Linked DNA regions of Homo sapiens: region 1 is linked to region 2. The links are contacts of gene promoters, found by promoter capture Hi-C in blood cells and fetal thymus (Javierre and others, 2016). All regions are on one chromosome and are shown on one strand. The core of a region is centred on a gene start or on the middle of the fragment in contact, and the rest is flanking DNA. Distances in the headings are between cores, read along the strand shown.

Region 1 (3,399 bases), core at 1-2,500, 5.5 Mb before region 2:
GTTTCAATGCCATGCTTCTTCACAGGCTGGCTTCCCTTCCTGGAATGTTAATCATTGCAGGAATCCCAGCTGATTATACAGTCGCCTTTCAGGCCAGAACCCAATAAAAAATCAAGAAAGGATCGCCCGTTCTATTACTGCGCTGCTCCCTCCCCTCGTAGATTTCACAAATATACTTCTCACCACAAGCTTGTCTGTTCCAAGAGAATGCTAGCTCTTCTAAAGAAGGAGCCCTTTGTTTTCCTTGCCCTTGTCCAGTTCCTCTGCATACCTCTAGCACCTAGAGCAACAACTGCTATACAGGAGCCCAGATGTGGAACAGAGCAAAGAACTGAGTGTTGATTTAATGTTGCCTGAAGTCCTTAACAGCACCTTCAACCTAAACTTAACTGTGTTTTTAATCCCCTACACGTGTAATCCCTGTATGTGTGCGCAGCGTTAAAAGGATTATTGTAGCTCAAAAATTCTCCAATGAAAGAACCTCTACCAGAAAGGAGTTGCTCATCTTTCGTTCTTGAAAAGTTGGCTGCACGATACAAGTAAGAAAAGTTTTAGTTAGGCAAGACAACTTATACATAAAAGACAATTATAGGGAACATTACCTAACTTAGCACAGGGCCTCGAATGTATTCCGAAATTAAATCAGCATGTAGAAAGCAAGCCTCCTCATGCTTTTTAAAGTGTAATCTCGCGACCTCGCGGCGCGCTCTGGGAAGACCGATTCATCTCTTCCCCTCGCCCTCTTTCCCCGGCCGGCGCACAGCCGGCCCGTGGCGCTCGGCACCGCGTCTCCACGTCCAGCGCGGGGCAGGCCTGCGCGGCGCTTGCAAGGGACAAGCCGCGGAGCCGGGGAGGCTCGCCGTCTGGGACACGTTTGGAGAAGCGAGCGGTACAGTCCATTCCACGGCGACATTTTAGGATTCTCCCACTGACAACACTAAACTGAAGCGCTAAGACCAACCCTTACGACCACTTACCGTCGCAGGCCACGGTGGTGACTTCCTTTTCCGCTCCCCTACACACGCTTTTCCGTTTTGCGTGCCTTTGTTTCCGCTCCCCCCGGGACCATCGTGCGCCCCTGTCCTCCGTTCTTGTAGGTCCTCTCCTCTTCTCCGCGTCTTCTCTTTTACTATCCCACGCTCTCCTTTCCTTTCTCCGGGAACTTTATCCCGTTCCCCTGCCGGTTCCCGTGACCCCGGAAATCCCGCTCCTGCCGCGAGGCGCCCTCCGCTTCGCGCTCCCTCGTGTCACGAGGGAGCCAGGGTGGGCGGTCTCCTATTGTACTTGGCTTTTGAATTTTCGCTTTTGCAGCACAAAGGTAGGGCTGGGAAAGGAGGCTGCCGAACCGTGCTTGTTTTCGCTCAGATAAACGTGAGAAAAAGTGGAGGTGAGGAAGCCAGTGTAGGCAAATAGCGAGAGGGGAGAAGACAGAAAGGTACCGAAGGTCGACCTTTTTTAGGTATCTTATCCAAGTTATTGAGGGGAATGGGTATTTAGCCAGTTTTTTGTTTGTTTGTTTTTATCCGAATATCCAGTGTGTGTCTTGAATGTGTGAATGTGACGTGTTTATAAAGCTCAGTAAGCTTAAAATTCCGTGCCAATACATTTTGTATGCCGCAGACAGGAAGTGCTTTGGAAGACCCTTGAAAGGGGAGGTGATTTTACACCAATATTGAGATCATTTTGTCAGAGTCGTGGGACTAAAGGTAGACCTTAGGTAGTCGATGTCAAAGATAAGCGCAGCTGGACGTTAAAGCGGTGAAAACATTCAGTTAACTACTGACAGGAAAGAGCTGAGCTCTATTTCGATTCGTGCAGAGATCATCTGGGCATTTTTAAAGGGACGTTTTAAAAGGAGAAAGGGGATATGCGGGCGCTCAGTAGAGAAAGTGAACCTACAGAGTTGTTAGTGTAAATGTGATTAGGCCAGCTGTGTGTTTGTGTGTGCGCGCGTTTTAACAGTTACCGCAGGATTCTATCCTCCTACGGAGGATTTTATCCTTCTCGATTACATTTCAAAGGAATGACTCTCTGGTCCTTGAGAGAGAACTTCTGAGTGGCAAGAAATAAGTCTTTACAATTGCAAGCCCTTTAGTAAACGTTCTAAGAAAGGGATGTCAGAGACCTATCATCAGTTGTGTGCTGGTTACATCACGTAGTTAAGCTTTCTGAGGCAGTCGCCCTGGGCACAGGGCCTTATGCTGCTAAAGCTTGCTAGAGTTTGGTCAAGTCTCTGAACGCAGGGGTTTAGATGGGATGGTCATGTTCCTGGAGTTCTGCAGTGGTCATAGGTATGATTTGAATAAGTACAGGGAATATTCTAGTCGGAGGAACAGAATGTGCCAACGCGCCGAACAGGGAGGATAGTTTTACGATACGGAGATGTGTATGATAGGGAATAAGTGGGAGCCCAGTTTGGACTAATTGGAAGAAGTCATTATTAGAAGTACTGTATTTAATTCTAGTTTGTTATAAAATGAGACTCCAAGATCACTGAGCCATTTCACTGAGACTCCAAGATCACCCCAATGCTAGGCTAATCTCCATGGCGCCTAGATCTATGCCCACTCCATTCCCCATGTTGGTCCCCATAGTTTCAGGCACCAGGCTCCAACACCAGGTTGGGCCCTACAGCCCCAGTCTCCAGGTTGGCACCAGTGGATATAGGCTTTAGGTCCACTGACTGCTGGTCCCTACAGCCCCAGGTTCCAGTGAACCCAGGTTCCAGGCCTGCTCCAACAAACCCAAGGTCCAGGTCTACCCCAGTAGACCCTGGCACCAGAACTACCCCAGAGGGCCTAGCCTACAGGCTACCACCCACAAACCCAGCCTCCATGATGGCCTCTGAAGAATCAGGCTTTAGGTCTTCCCCAGCACCAGACTAGACTGCTAGACTGATGTTCCACTTTTGTCCCCATGGACCCAGGCACCAGGCCCATCTGAGAGGTTTCTTCAGTTTTATTTTTCAGTAATAACTTTCATTCTTCTTTCTCAGTGATAACTGTAGTACTCAGTGGGCTTTCTATTTCTGGCTCCCATTTTCCATCTTTCTTTTTAACACTTTGGGAAAATATCCAAGTTAAACTCTATATAGTGGGGTAGGTGGACAATGAAAGATAAGTAAATACATAATATGTATAATCAACGGAGTGAAAAGACAGCCTGCAGAATGGGAGAAAATATTTGCAAACTATATATCTGACAAAGGGTTAATATCCAGAGTATATGAAGAAGTCAACTCAATAGCCAAAAAAAAAAAAAAAAAAATCCAATTTAAAAATGAGCAAAAGGCCTGAATGGACATTTCTCAAAAGAAAACATGATGATGACTAACAAATATATGAAAAAATGCTCAGCCAGGCACAGTGACTCACACCTGTAATCCCACACCTTGGGAGG
Region 2 (3,595 bases), core at 258-2,757:
TTTTTTTTTTTTTTTAAATCAAAAGCTCAATAAACATTTGCATGAGTTACTGACAGAGAAGCAGCTTCAACGCTTTAAAAATGAAACTGAAACCAGCGGAAAATCTAAAACTGAACTCTATCAGTAAACTGAACTCTATCAGTTTATTAACATTACAGCAGGTCTCTGTTCTGGTGAACTCCCTGGTGCTCTTACTGCGTTACCCATTTTTGTTTTTTTCGCTGCACTCACCAGTCTAACAGTATCTGCCCACTGGATTCACAGCGCTGGCACGTGCCAAGCGCCTAATAATTGCTCACTGGTTTGGCGGCTGACTACCCAGGAGAGGAAATTAAACACAAAGGCAGTATTGATCATATTCAGTAGTGTTTCGTGCGTTTGGTTTGGAAGTGGGGATTGGGGAATGGCCAATCACTTCCAAATTTAAAATATTGCTTCCTGGAAGAAAATGGACTCCTCAAAGACTGGATATTTCATGTCTGTAGTCCCAGGACCTGGCCCTGCGTCAGGCACATTGTAGGTGTTGAAAATGCACCTGAGGAATTCTGAGTTGCGCGGAACTGTGTATTCCGAGCACAACGCGTCGTTAAAAACCAAACAAAGCAGAACAAACTTCGTTCAGAAGCGACTCCCGCTATACTTAGAAACTAGAATTGACCCCTGGCTGCAGGGTTCCGCTTTACCAACACACCGCAGGGAAAGGGCTTAGAAATAGTGAAAGCGGCCGGGGGCGGCGGGTCACGCCTCTAATCCCAGCATTTTGGGAGGCCGAGGCGGGTGGATCCCCTGAGGTCAGGAGTTCGAGACCAGCCTGGCCAACATGGTGAAATCCCGTCTTTACTAAAAATACAAAAAATTAGCCAGGGTGGTGGCAGGCGCCTGCAATCCCGGCTACTCGGGAGGCTGAGGCAGGAGAATCGCTTGAAACCGGGAGCCGGAGGTCGCAGTAAGCTGAGATCGCGCCATTGCACTCCAGCCTGGAAGAGTGAAAGCATGTAGGCTCTCGTTTCATGAAGACAAAGATGAGGATCACACCCACAACGACACAAACATGGTCTCTCAGGGTGACTTAGAAGCGAAGGAACAAAGTGCGCTGCCTGGGGAGGCTGGGTCTTGTAGAAGCAACAGGAAAGTAGAACGTGGTGTGGAAAGGGTTAAAACTGGCGCTCGGCGGGATACAGGGCTCTAGGTGCCTTAAAGAACACGCGGACACACTTGTTTGGCTTCTGTCGCGCTCCGTAGAATGAGTTCCCTGGGCCTCGGTGGGCCACGCCTCCGCAAAGAAGGACAACGCGAAGCTGCCCGCGTAGTGCCTGTTGCACTCGCCAAGGACCGGCCTGGCAGAGATAGAAAACTCGCAGTACGTTTGCCTCAGAACCGCCTCAATCCGGAAACAGAAACTCCCCAGGCCCGGCACTGCGGGAGCCACCTCTTTCGAGGGTGGGAGTGCACATGCGCACAGGGGACCTGAAAAACCCTTAAATACCGGCATGCGTGCGGATGAGGCCTCTTTCCCTGCCGCCGCCGAGTCGCGCGGAGGCGGAGGCTTGGGGTAAGTTGAGCGAGGCGGCAGGGGGGTGTATTGGTTATAATTTGTGGCTCGTTGCGTTCTTGCTGGGATTCGTGACGAGTATCTGGTTCTTTAACAAGTCAATGCTTTTGTTTTTTAGTGCGTTCAAGATTCAACTTCACCCGTAACCCACCGCCATGGCCGAGGAAGGGTGAGCCCAGGGGCCGGGGTTGGAGTTGGGGTCGGGGTGCGGCTGAGGCGTGGGGCTAGAGCTGGCGGAACAGGACTGGGTCAAACGGGTCGCCGTAAGCGCGTCTGTTGTACACTTAGCTTTTGCTGAGTGCAAGGCCTTATGTGGTGTGAGGATTTTAACTGATGGTTCTGATGTGTCGCGTTTAAGCATTGCTGCTGGAGGTGTAATGGACGTTAATACTGCTTTACAAGAGGTTCTGAAGACTGCCCTCATCCACGATGGCCTAGCACGTGGAATTCGCGAAGCTGCCAAAGCCTTAGACAAGTACGTGTATCAGTCTCAATACTGTGGGTTCTTGCAACCGGAACAAAACTGCCACCCAAGGGAAGAAGGCATGGAGTTCATGGTGTTAGCGCAAAAGTTCTGAATGGCATCCGTCCTACCGGAAACCTAGGAAAAGGTATCAGAACTCAGATCTATAAAGCCCACTTAAAATGTGTGGGTTGCTGTTTGGAATGGGGATAAGCACTCAAAACTACAGTGTTTGAATGATGACTTTAATTGTCGGATACCCCTTCACTCCTTTTATGAGTGAAACATAAGAGTCTGACAAACCTGTAGGTTGTGGAGCTAGTCAGTCTTATACTTATCTGGCAGATAGATGAGATGGAGAGCCACATTACATCTGGTAGTTTGCAAAACAAGCATTAATTTAATGGAATTTCAAACTCAGGTTTCAGAAGCATTTGGTCCTAGATGAATTTAGTAGTATAATAGCTGTGATTTATTTGAATTTGGGATATTTGTTAATGTATTTGAATGGATCGAGTTAATGTGTTTTTTAGGGTGGTGGCATTGACAAATCAACCTACTCTTGAGCTGAATTTAAATGCAGTTTTAAGGTTTTACAGGACAAGTTCGTTTTGGTGTAATCTAGCCAGTTCAATCCGATGGAAACGGCATTATTGTTTAATGTATTTAGTAGGTCCTAGTATGAGTCTTCTGTATTTCTATTTCGGCATTATTGCATGGCATTTCATAACTGTTCCATTAATGCCACAGTCTTTTTTTTTTCTTTTTTCTTTTTTTTTTTTGAGACAAAGAGTCTTGCTCTGTCCCCCAGGCTGGAGTGCAGTGGCGCGATCTCATTGCAACCTCTACCTACCAGGTTCAAGCGATTCTTCTGCCTCCCGAGTAGATGGAATTACAGGCACACGCCACCATGCCCAGCTAGTTTTTGTACTTTCAGTAGAAACGGGGTTTCGCCATGTTGGTCTCTGGCTGGTCTGGTACTCCTGACCTCGGGTCATCTGCCCCCCTCGTCTTCCCAAAGTGCTGGGATTACAGGAGTGAGCCATCGTGCCCGGCCTTTCACATGTTTCTTTAGGTATATGAAGCTGGCTTACAAGAAAGCTATTATGGTTGGGTTTTGGCCAGAAGTTTTAAAAATGACTTACACCAATTCAGTGTGTCAGGGACAGAGGTTTTACTGAAGACCAGTTGTAGGTTAATTGAAGATGTATATGCTCCCTAGCAGGTTCTTCAGACTCAAGCAATTTTGTACGCATTTATGTGTTCAGTGGATTGGCTGCTTATGTTTCGCAAGTGTTAGTGCAAAGATAACCCTCCTAAAATGCAAGAATGATGGATTTGGATCTGAGTTTTAGCTCCATTTTCATTGTAATTTGAATTTCAGGCGCCAAGCCCATCTTTGTGTGCTTGCATCCAACTGTGATGAGCCTATGTATGTCAAGTTGGTGGAGGCCCTTTGTGCTGAACACCAAATCAACCTAATTAAGGTAAGGCTGCTAAGGATTGTGTTGGGACTAATGTTCAGTGATGCTTGTATATGGGGGTAAATTCTGTGAAGTCTCAAGCTGTTCATTTTGTGC

What was found. The method cuts DNA at HindIII sites, captures the fragments that hold promoters and counts their contacts. A CHiCAGO score of 5 or more calls a contact.
Region 1: the fragment with the promoter of ECHDC1 here is called in contact with the fragment with the promoter of RPS12 in region 2 in 1 of 17 cell types (total CD4 T cells); the score reaches 5.8 in total CD4 T cells.

The regions. Positions count from the first base shown.
Region 1 is chr6:127,342,359-127,345,757 of GRCh38, forward strand. ECHDC1 (ethylmalonyl-CoA decarboxylase 1) reads right to left here and starts at 1,251. Exons shown (of 6, transcript NM_001002030.2): 1 at 978-1,251. RefSeq lists enhancers at 536-1,409, 2,284-3,157. The HindIII fragment of the contact is 1,394 bases long and covers 188-1,581 here.
Region 2 is chr6:132,813,062-132,816,656 of GRCh38, forward strand. RPS12 (ribosomal protein S12) reads left to right here and starts at 1,508. Exons shown (of 6, transcript NM_001016.4): 1 at 1,508-1,552; 2 at 1,671-1,721; 3 at 1,911-2,027; 4 at 3,400-3,502. The coding sequence starts at 1,708. SNORD101 (small nucleolar RNA, C/D box 101) reads left to right here and starts at 2,246; the gene lies at 2,246-2,318. LOC107986644 (a long non-coding RNA gene) reads right to left here and starts at 1,227. Exons shown (of 3, transcript XR_001744345.3): 1 at 232-1,227. RefSeq lists enhancers at 1-43, 473-1,219, 1,134-1,413, 1,844-1,973. The HindIII fragment of the contact is 13,401 bases long and covers 1-3,595 here.